Linked DNA regions of Homo sapiens: region 1 is linked to region 2. Evidence: promoter capture Hi-C in 16 types of primary human blood cells and fetal thymus (Javierre and others, 2016). All regions are on one chromosome and are shown on one strand. The core of a region is centred on a gene start or on the middle of the fragment in contact, and the rest is flanking DNA. Distances in the headings are between cores, read along the strand shown.

Region 1 (5,625 bases), core at 241-2,740, 190 kb after region 2:
AAGGTAGCTAAACACTCTTAGGTTACACTATTCTGATGGGAAAGACCACCAGAGGTGCCCTTGGATACCTGGTAATAAGGGCTATAGAAGAAATTATGGAAATTCTACAACCCTGTCAGTGACTATAGCCAACCATGCGGCTATAGCCAGACCCTGCAATGTGCTCATGGGTCCAGAGCCCCCTATGTGTTATCTCAGCTCATGGGCTTTCTCTGTTCCTGCATAACTTCACTTGCTAGGAGGCTTTCCTTACTTTGGCCTCCATGCCACCCTGAGACATGCCCTTGTCCTTTGCGGCTCATGACCTCAGTGCAGGTTTCCAAATTCATACCCTCAGAGCTTGAATGATTGGTCCAGTTCATCTTTTTCACATTTGGTCATGTCCTAGGTCACTGGCCAGTCTATAGTTTGGCTGATCTTTGGTTGGGTGTCTCACCATGGTCCAGTTAGCTGTGATCTGAAGTGGGCGTAGGGTGGGGAGGTTGTATGAACTTGAGTTGGTTGTTCAAGTAACAGGAGCTGAGAGCATGGCAATTTTCCTTAGAACGATAGTGAGTGAGTGGTCAGGTACTGATTGATATCTCCAGGTAAGCAGAGTTTCAATTTTGGTTGCTCTTCACGAGGAAAGCCAGAAGCCCAGAGCTGTTTTGCTAGAGTGATAGAACTGAGATAGTGTTTTGAGCAGTGCCCAGTGGGAACATCTTTGCTGAGAAGAACGAATAAAGAATTTTGGCAATTAACTATGTAACTGAGTCCCAGACTCTGCTATCATCTGGGGTGGCAGATAAAAACACACAGTCCAAATAAAAAACCTGATTTTTTATTTTAGCCTGAATCACCCAGATCACAGCAGGATTTTGCTTGAACAACCCAGACAGATTGCATCCATTTTCTGCTTTACTGTGCTTGTGGAAGCCAGGCTGTTAGTGGTTTCTTCTGGAATGGGAGAATGTATCACAAAAAGGTTGGAACCTGAAAAATTTCTAGAATTTCATTGTTCTGTGCTTCTTAATAAACAATGTGACACTACCAAGGAATGTGTGTTGACCCTCTTTTTTTAAAAAAATAAAGATGTAGTGGATAGCACGATTTTGATGAAATGTCAGGCTTTATTTTTCATTTGAAAAATGTGTGTGAGGGAATCAGGTGTAATGGCATGATACATCTCTTTAAATTATACTTACGAGATTAAATTTGTCCTGTGTTTCAATTACACTGTATTATACTGCTTCATTTAAATTGTTGTTTTCTTCTTTTTTAATTGTTCAACCTAATTGTCTAATAGTGATGAATGCAATTTAATTAGACACTTTTCCTTGAAGGATATATATATATTTTCCCTATAATAAAGCACAGAATAGTTTAAAAAATGTATTGGTCCAAGCACACATTTTTATTTTTAGTGATTTCATTAGAACAATAAACTTCAAAATGATTCATAACAACCTTTCTGGATTGATTTGATGGAACTGTTTTTACCCATTCACTGATAAACCTGTCAACAGTTTCCTCTCATGACACATACAAAGCACGTGTGTTCCCATAGTGTGTCCTTGTGTGTAATTCCTTGTGCTGGTTCAGATTCTGAAATGGAGCTTTAAAAGCATGGAGGCTTGAGTTGGTCCATGTGAGTTTGAACCCTGGCCGCAGCTGGTATGGGTACTTAATCTCAGTATCCCACGGTTTCCTCAACTGCAAAATGGGTTTTTAGTAGTACTTACCTCACTGGGTTGCTACAAAGATACTTAAACTAGTATCTGACATCTAGTACAGCCAGCCCTCCATATCTGTGGGTTCCACATCTGAGGATTCAATCAACCTCTGGTTGGATAAAAAATATCTAGGAAAATAGCTGCATACTAGGGGAAAAAAAAAAGAAAAAAATATCCAGGAAAAAAATTGTGCCAGTACTGAACATGACTTTGCTCTTTTCATTCTCTAAACAATATAGTATAACACATATTTACTTCACATTTACATTGTTTTAGGTATTATAAGTAATCTATGGATTATTTAAAGTATACAGGAGGATGTGCATAGGATATATGTAAATACTATGTGATTTTATATCAGGGACTTGTCCTGGAACCAATATCCCAACCCTAATACTAAGGGATGACTATATATGCTCAGAAGACATTTGTTGTCATTTTTATTCTCTTGCACTCAAGAAAGCACATATTGGAATGCAAACGAATATCAATAATAGTTTTTTAAAGGATAATTAAGTTAATTTATAATTTACATACAATATACATTGTACATTTATATTTTCTAATGAAAAGGAAATAATCTATAACCTTCAGTTCAGAATTCATTAGCTGTCCTATTTTGAGAACTGTTGCTCTATGTAATTTTCATCTCTGTATTGATGTGTAAAACTGGTTTTAACAGGTAGCTAAATGCTGTTTGAAAAGCATACTTCACCCATTCTGGCAACTAAAATAATTGAAAGATTTAATTAATTTAGAAAAAATATTTCGCTTTCAAAACACTTGAACTGTTCAGAGCATGTTATTCAATAATCTACCTTTCACCAGAAATCATAATAAACACAATAAAAATGCTTACAGAACCCCCACAATGCGTTAGTATACATGATTATTCCTTGTGTAAGTGAATCTTGTTGAGATTTTATGTTCAGTCAATTGCAATTAAATACTTTACATATTAACTAAAATGTGTCCTGCTCTATGTATTCTGGAGAAGTTACTCTCAGACAAATTTACATATTTAAATTATTTTATGGGCTAACTGATAAGTATAGAGAAGACTGAAGACAGTTAAGATCATTGATTTCAAAATGTTTTAAAGTGTTGATTATTTATTTTGGTTTTCTTTCTTTCCCATGCCAGTTTTGAGATGCACCTCTTACTTGGCAGGTGTTCCTCTGTACTGGGTACTGGGACAGAGAGAAATACAGTAGCAAGAGGGAGATCCTGCCTCCGCCCCATTCTACCATTCTCACTGCCAGAAAGCCAGCCTTTTTTCAAGGCTTGTAGAGAAGAAAAAGAGAAAATATTTTTAAAAATTCATTTAAAGTACCTACTGCATAAACCACACCAGACATGATGAGATATTAAAATGTCAATATTATTAAAAATTTTTAATATGATTTTACAGCCCCTTTGCTACTTTAAAATGTTTATCTTAGTGTTAAACAAACAATCAATAACCTCATAAACTTAAAAATTGCTGCAGGAAATACCGGACAGTTTATGGAAGGATCATATGACAGAAGGAAGGGCTGAAGAGTGTGAGAAGCTAGACCTCTGCAGGTTACCGAAGTCAAGAACCTCATTAATCGGTAACAAGAAGTGCAGAGCGGGCTTTTGAGTCCATGCCTGAGTAAGAAAGTCCCAAAAAACACTCACAGAAGATATTTCCTTGCCCCTGCTTTTAGTTTAGCTGTAGCTAACTTTGGATTAACAAAATTTATGTGCTGAATGATGTTTTATTTTTTTTTCCAACTCCACATGCCTGTCTAGACTTCAAGCTTTATTACGAATAAAGAGAAAATCGGCTGGATGGCATAAAAAATATTTCAGGCAGATTAACACATGATTTACCTCTTCTTGAACATCCATCTTAATGGAAGTGCTAAGAAAGTTAGATTCGGGCCTGGCTTGGCAAAAGCAAGGCCACCCCCTCCTCTATTTTTTCAATGAGATTTTCCAATCCTAGTCAAATGGTGGTGCTAGTTCTTTATTTTTGAGTTACTGCATTTCCTAATTTCATGGTCATAACAGCCTCCTGTCTACCGACTCAGAACGGATTTTACCAAAACTGAAAATGCAGGCTCCATGCTCAGAAGCTCTTTAACAGGCTCGAAAGGTCCATGCTCCTTTCTCCTGCCCATTCTATAGCATAAGAAGACAGTCTCTGAGTGATAATCTTCTCTTCAAGTAGGTACTCCTATTTCTTCTCAATTTATTTTTTCCTTTTTGATATAATGTGCTACTGTTTACAAGCATATTGTAACTTCAGAGCTTACCTCTCATCTTTAAAAAATGTTCATTTTTTTGTCTTTCTGCTCCAAGGATATTTTGCAAAGTTACTGGCAAGTATTCCTGGGATGATAAAATGTGAAATCTAAACTTGGTACAGTGGAAATTCACTTCTAGAATAATATTTAGCTGAGGCAGAGGGCAATCCGACTACCCTTTTCTTAGTACAGCACACACAGGCTGCCTGTCTGTTCCAGATAACATAAATGTATTGGATCTAGCACTAGCTAGGAGACACTGTATTGTTGAACTGTGTTAGAATTTTATAAGCTCTTAATTGGACAAATCTCAGAGTAGCATGAACACACTACCTGTTTTCTGAATCTTTGGAGCCATAACTTACGTGAGTTTGAACTAAGCGATGTGAATAAGCCATTATTTGTTTCCTAAAGGCAGTCAAGTTTTCTGAAAAGCTACACATTTAGCAGCAAAAGAACGAGCCCCTCTGTCTTGAAATGGGCCTCTGATTTTAAGCAAGCTCTTTTGAGTCCTGGTGTCCCATTTTCTCAGTTCCTTTTTGCCTCACAATGGCACATACATAATGACTCCACCACATATAGCAGTGGGCTACTCGGGTAATGATGTGGCAGTCACAAGACAGGGCAGAATACTTTCATTTTGGTTAGAGGAATGCCACATGTCTTAGGAAATGCTCGCTGAACTGTAAGTTTCATACTTTGTCAAGAAGATAACCAGTATTCTCTCAAACAAGTCCGTAGGAGCCAACATGATTAAAAGATTTTAAAGCAATTTACTCGATAGAAGGGTTGGGCTTAATCAGGACTTGTGATCATGGCAATGGTTCCTGCTTAAAGGTGCCAGATTTTTAATGCCTTTATGTGCCAGATCTAATAGGCTTACAGAGCAACTCCATGTATATGAGGTTGCTGGGAAACTCATCTGGTTTTGAATGTGGTATATACATATTTTAATATTGAGAGTAAACAGGAAGACCAGGTAGAAGTATTTGAACTGAATTCTGAAACGTACAGAGAACTTAAATTGGATGAGAATGTTTGAGAACCATGGATGGTTCAGGGTCCATTTGTATACCATAAAATCCCTTCCTATTTCTCAAAAGCAAATATTTTCTTTGATTTTGTTAATATCCTGTGATGACTGCCCACTAGGCCTTGGAATGCATGCAGATAATGCTGTAGCAGTTGGATAAAATACTCTAGAATGTCAGATTTTCAAGGAAATTACAAATAAAAACAATGTAGGTAAAAGATACGACATGTAGGAAAAAAGCAAAATTTTCCTTAAGAATACAAGCGTCGTATTTACGAGTAGAAGATTTTTCTTGGACATTTGGAGATACGTGTTTCATTTTATTGCTTGTGACAGTCAAGGAAAGGAATAAAGCTCTTGTGTCTTAAACTTGCAGCAAGAACAAAGTCCAACTATCTTTCGTTTCTGATAACTCTGTGTCTTTTTGTTCAATATTGGGTTTAGAGCTAGCTACCATCTACCTTCCCTTCAAACACTCACTCTAAACCTCCACACAGTGTAAGTATTTACATCAGGCATCTGCTAAACATTTTCACATGGTTATCTGCAGGTCTTCTCTGAGTCTGTCTGCATTCATTTATCCTAGTTGCTCAGAACAATCGCTTGG
Region 2 (5,579 bases), core at 1,632-4,131:
TCCAACTCCCAGCCTGAAATGTTCTACCACCATGGTCCCAGCTAGCCCAAATCGTCATCTCCTCCAAGGTCCAGACCTCGGGGTCCCCCCAGCTCAACTTCTTTGACGTCATCACATCATCAGATGCTGCTTGAAGAGTCACTTGGCTCATGTCTTGATATCCCAGAAATCTCAAAGGCATCTGGGGAGGGCTGAGCCAAGTACTTTTTCTGCCTCCAGTTACCACAAAATCACATTGTTTTATACAGAGAAAAATCTGTTTCATGCTGATTTTTAAAGACTGCAAATTTATATCTTCTATTCTCATGAATAAGAGCTACAAGGTTGACCAAACTGAGCAGAATTAGGCTTTATGACATGGGATTCTTAAACAATTGGATTAGAGTTAATGGAGAAGGATTTCCATCTGGTTCTCTTCCAGGTGTCTTGAGTTTTCATCAATTTTGTGTTTCCTCTGGCAGTGTTGGTTCATTGAAAATTTAACAAGTTTGGCCGGGCGCAGTGGCTCACGCCTGTAATCCCAGCACTTTGAGAGGTGGAGGCAGGTAGATCACCTGAGGTCAGGACTTCGAGACCAGCTTGGCCAACATGGTGAAACCCTGTCTCTACTAAAAATACAAAATTAGCAGGGTGTGGTGGCACATGCCTGTAATCCCAGCTAGTCGGGAGGCTGAGGCAGGAGAATCGCTTGAATCCAGGGGGCGGAGTTTGCAGTGAGCAGAGATCGCTCCATTGAACTCCAGCCTAGGTAACGAGCGAAACTCTGTTTGAAAAAAAAAAAGAAAAGAAAATTTGACAAGTTTGTAGTGGTTCTACTGCAAGGAAAAACTACAACTTAAAAATGTGTTTACTCCAAATTGTACTATTAATAGGAGATTTCTGAAAGCCTAAGTTTTCATTAAGAACTTTTTCTTTAACGGTGCATCAAGTGAAAGCCTTGAGATGATTCTGGATTAGATATATGGCAAAGTTACCGTGAGCTCAAAAGCCATTGTCCAGATGAAGAAATCCTCAGGGTCAATATGAATGCACATAGGATGACTGATGGAATCCAAGAAAAGCTGCCATAGCTCTGATTTTGCCTTTTTGTGTTGTCTTTAGAGACATGCTCTTGCTCTGTCGCCCAGGCTGGAGTGCAGTGGTGATCATAGCTCACTGCAGCCTTGACCTCCTGGGCTCAAAGCTATCCTCCTGCTTTAGCTTTCTTTTTTTTTTTTTTTTTTAAGATGGCGTCTTGCTCTGTCACCCAGGCTGGAGTACAGTGGTGCTATCTCAGCTTATTGCAACCTCCGCCTCCCAGGTTCAAGCGATTCTCCTGCCTCAGCCTCCCAAGTAGCTGGGATTACAGGCATGTGCCACCACACCTAGCTAATTTTTGTATTTTTAGTAGAGACAGGGTTTCACTATGTTGGCCAGGCTGGTCTCGAACTCCTGACCTCAGGTGATCCACCTGCCTCAGCCTCCCAAAGTACTGGGATTATAGGTATGAGCCACCTCACCTGGCCCCGCCTTAGCCTTCTGAGTAGCTAGGACTACAGGTGTGCACCACCATGCCTGGCTAATTTAAAAAAAAAAAAAAAAAACTTGTAGAGATAGAGTCTTGCTGTATTGCCCAGGCTGGTCTCAAACTCCTGGCCTCAAGCAATCCTCCCACCTGTTTGATTTCATGTGTCTCAAACAGCATAGGAGTCTACTAAAGGCTTTTTTCTTTTTTTTTTTTTTTTTTTTTGAGGCAGATTCTTGCTCTGTCACCCAGGCTGGAGTGCAGTGGCTCAATCTTGGCTCACTGCAACCTCTGCCTCCCAGGTTCAAATGATTTTCCCTGCCTCAGCCTCTCAAATAGCTGTATTACAGGTGTCCGCTACCACGCCCGGCTAATTTTTGTATTTTTAGTAGAGACAGGGTTTCACCTTCTTGGCCAGGCTGGTCTCAAACTCCTGACCTCAAGTGATCCACCCATCTCAGCCTCCCAAAAGTGTTGGGATTACAGGAGTGAGCCACCGCGCCTGGCCCACCAAAAGCTTTAAAGTGAGGTGAATGCAGATTCCATTTTCAGATTCTGCTACAAATTGTGGGACCTTAAACAAGTTACTCATCTTCTCTGTGCTTTAGTGTTATGATCTGGAGCCTGATCTTCATTCTACCACTTACCCTGTACATCTTGGAAATTTTATTTTATTTCCCTGTGACTGTTGCCTTGTCTTGCAGATGGATTATTCTAACATCCACTTCATAATCTTGTTTCATTTAAGGAGATTGATCATACGTGGGAAGCACTTAGAACAGTGCATGGACGAGCACGAGTATTTCATAATGAGCAGCTGTGGCTGTTACTAACACTGGTATTACTAGTACCCGTACTTCCAGGCAGGGTTGTTGAGAAGGTGAAATGAAAGAACGCACACCAGGGCAGGCTACATAATTTGTGGACCCCGGTACAGAATGAAAATGCAGGACACCTTGTTCAAAACTTCCTAAAAACGTCAAGACTGGGACAGCTGAGTATTAAACCAAGCGCAGGACCCGGACCTGCACAGGTTGCACGCTCGCAGACACATTTGCACACAGTGTGTGCTAAATAAATGCTCCGTTCACCCTTGTGAAGTTTCCTATGCCTCACTCGCGCCAGCACCGTTCACAGTGCCCACTGGCTGTATTTATCGCTGACATAAGGATGAGGCCTGGAATTGCATTCACTGCAGAGTCCCACCGGGAGGACCGACCGTTATCCCCGCCGACTCCCCCCAGGTCGCCCTGGCAGTTTCGGCCGCTCAGTTGCAGGCCCTCGCCACGGAGGCCACGCTCGGGGGTTCGGGGTCCACCCCGGCCTCCTGCGGCCGGGCCACCCTACTCGCGCGCAGCCGCGCGCCGCCGCGTCCCCGCGGTGTTTACCCGTTGCCCGAGGAGACACCCGCGCCACCCGCCGGCTCCCGGCGCCGCCGCTTCCTCAGGGCCGGTTCCGGGTCCGAGCGCGCCCCCGGGCTCGGGTCGTCATGAGCCTGGACTGCACCAGCCATATCGCGCTGGGTGCCGCTTCGCCAGCGCCCGAGGTACGGTCCCAGCCGCCGGCCGCGCGCGGGGGTGGCCCTGGGGATAGACGACCCAGGAGGGGCCGAGGCGCCCCTGATTTGCACCCTTTTCCTCCCGGAGGCGTGGGCAGAATCAGAGCAGCTCTGTGCCCGCGAGGGCTGTGGCCTGGGACTGCCAGGGCGCTGATTTCAGGAGGGGATGGGCAGGACCGGAGTTTGCGGAGCGCGTCTGAATTTTAGGTTGTGCCACTCTGCTTCTCTGACCATTTAAACCGGTGACATTCGAAAGACTGTGGCCGGGCAGTTCCTCCCCGCCACCCCTGGGAGCAAAGAATTCCTTCATTTAACTTTCCCTGCTTAGCTACTGAAGTGTGCTTCGGAGCAATTTCTGGAAAATCTGATGTGGCAGGAGGAGGGCCAGCCCGGAGTAGAGTCACCGGCCCTTTCGTTGCGAAGTAATCCAGAAACGTTGGTAATTCAGTTGTTCCTGAATGCATCTACTCATTTACTCCCAGGAGTTACTTAGGTACTGGGGACTTTCAGGTATTAGATGTACCAATGCGCGCGCGCACACACACACGAACATGCGCGCATACACAGACGCTCGTGCACACACGCGAACAGGCACATACGCGAACAAACACGGGCGCGCACACACACGAACACGGGCATATGCATACTTGGGCGCACAAGAAGATCTGGCTGGCTCAGTCTGGGTTAAGAATCCCCCTTTGGCCTTGGCATCGGGGCCCACCGGGTATCGTGTGTATTGGGAGTAGTTGCCAGAGATGGGGGAATTGTGTTCAGCTCAACTGCTAACCGCAAGTAACTCACCCAATTAGTAAATGATGGAGGATTTTTCTTTCTTTCCAAAGTTTTGGACTTTTCCTACCACGCTGTGTACTGACCATAGATATCCCTGGGGGATGTAGTGGATTCAAAACATGAGTTGGATTCTCCAACGTGCCATCGGAATTCTTCTAATATTCAGCAGCTTTGATTGTTGTTTTACATCTGACCTGTATTTAGATTTCTCTGATTCCTGGAATATTTGTGGAAAATAAGTACCACTGTGTGCAAATAAAACTATTTTTTCTTTCTTTCTAACTCAGAGGCCAGTTACTAGATGTTTTTTCTTTCATCTGACATTTTCATATTTGACTTTATTAATTTTTATCCCAATGTGGTGTCTTAACCATACATAAGTATGTGGTATTTTTATATTATTAATATATATTTTTTTTGGTGAGCCCATTGAGAGTAAATTACAGCCATCATGATTCTTTCTTTCTCTCTCCTTTTTTTCTCTTGTTCTCTCCCTCCCTCCTTTTCTTTCTTTCTTCTTTTTTTCAGACAGGGTCTCACCTTGTTACCCAGGCTCGAGTGCAGTGGCACGATCTCGGCTCGCCGCCGCCTTGACACCCCTGGGTTCAAACGATCCTCTCACCTCAGCCTCCAGAGTAGCTGGGACTCCAGGCATGCCATGATGCCTGGATAATTTTTGTGTTCTTTGCAGAGGCAGAGTTTTATCGTGTTGCTCAGGCTGGTCTCAAACTCCTGAGCTCAAGCGATCCACCTGCCTCAGACTCCCAAAGTGCTGGGATTACAGAGATGCACTACCATGCCTGGTCCCCTATGACCTTTCATCTGTAAATACTCTGGTGTGTTATCTCCTATGAATAAGGGCATTCTCTAACGAACATACAATGATCAAAATCGGGATGTTTAGCATTGTGACAATAATATTATCTAATATACACGACCTACTAAAACTTTGCCACTTGTCCCAATTATGCCATTTATTGCCAATTTTTTTTCCATCTCAGGATCACACACTGTATTTAGTTATGTCTCCAGTCTCTTCAAACCTGGAACAGTTCTTCACATTTTTTTTGTTTGTTTTTTTGTTTGTTTGTTTTTGTCTTTGATGATACTGACATTTTTGCAGAGTCCAGGTCATTCGTTTTATAGAGTAAGTTTCTCTGATTGTCCTTCGTGATTAGATTTTTGGGTAGGAATAACATAAGAGATGTTATGTCTCAGAGTATCACATCAGGAGGGGCATATATCAGCTTATCCCATTATTGGTGATGTCCCCAGCTGGTGGCCTCTGCCAGATTTTTCCCCTTTAGCAATAAATAAGAAATCATATTAGTTGAGTAATAATATTGATTCGGATAGAAATTTTTAGCATAAGTCACTGCCTACAAAAGGAAAATGTCCATTAAGCATGAGATTTTAATTGGCTTAAAATAACTAAATTTTATTGAGAACAAAAGTAGCTGCAGAAAAGGCAGCATTTATTACAATTAAATGTTCAGTTTGCAAAATACTTTATCTGAGATCATCTTATAATTTAGATAGGCGGGGCAGAAATTTCTCACTATATAAGATGAGGAAATAGCTTACTGGATTAGAAATGATGGAGCAGGGACTTGTATCTTTCTTTCAAAAGCTTTGTACTTTTCCTACCATGCCAGACTGAAAACATTAAATTACAAAGCAGTGATAGTCTGCAACTTTCTGGAAAAGTAAAATACTGTAGAGACT

Evidence for each region. The method cuts DNA at HindIII sites, captures the fragments that hold promoters and counts their contacts. A CHiCAGO score of 5 or more calls a contact.
Region 1: a fragment that was not itself captured here is called in contact with the fragment with the promoter of CCDC170 in region 2 in 2 of 17 cell types (M0 macrophages and M1 macrophages); the score reaches 7.0 in M0 macrophages.

What each region holds. Positions count from the first base shown.
Region 1 is chr6:151,686,760-151,692,384 of GRCh38, forward strand. It overlaps a transcript of ESR1 not described here. Among named protein-coding and RNA genes, the nearest start is that of ESR1, 120 kb to the right of the region's middle. The HindIII fragment of the contact is 4,007 bases long and covers 1-3,494 here.
Region 2 is chr6:151,491,136-151,496,714 of GRCh38, forward strand. It overlaps CCDC170 (coiled-coil domain containing 170), which reads left to right and starts at 2,882. Exons shown (of 11, transcript NM_025059.4): 1 at 2,882-3,050. The coding sequence starts at 2,994. LOC124901436 (a long non-coding RNA gene) reads right to left here. Exons shown (of 2, transcript XR_007059817.1): 2 at 5,272-5,579. The HindIII fragment of the contact is 3,463 bases long and covers 2,020-5,482 here.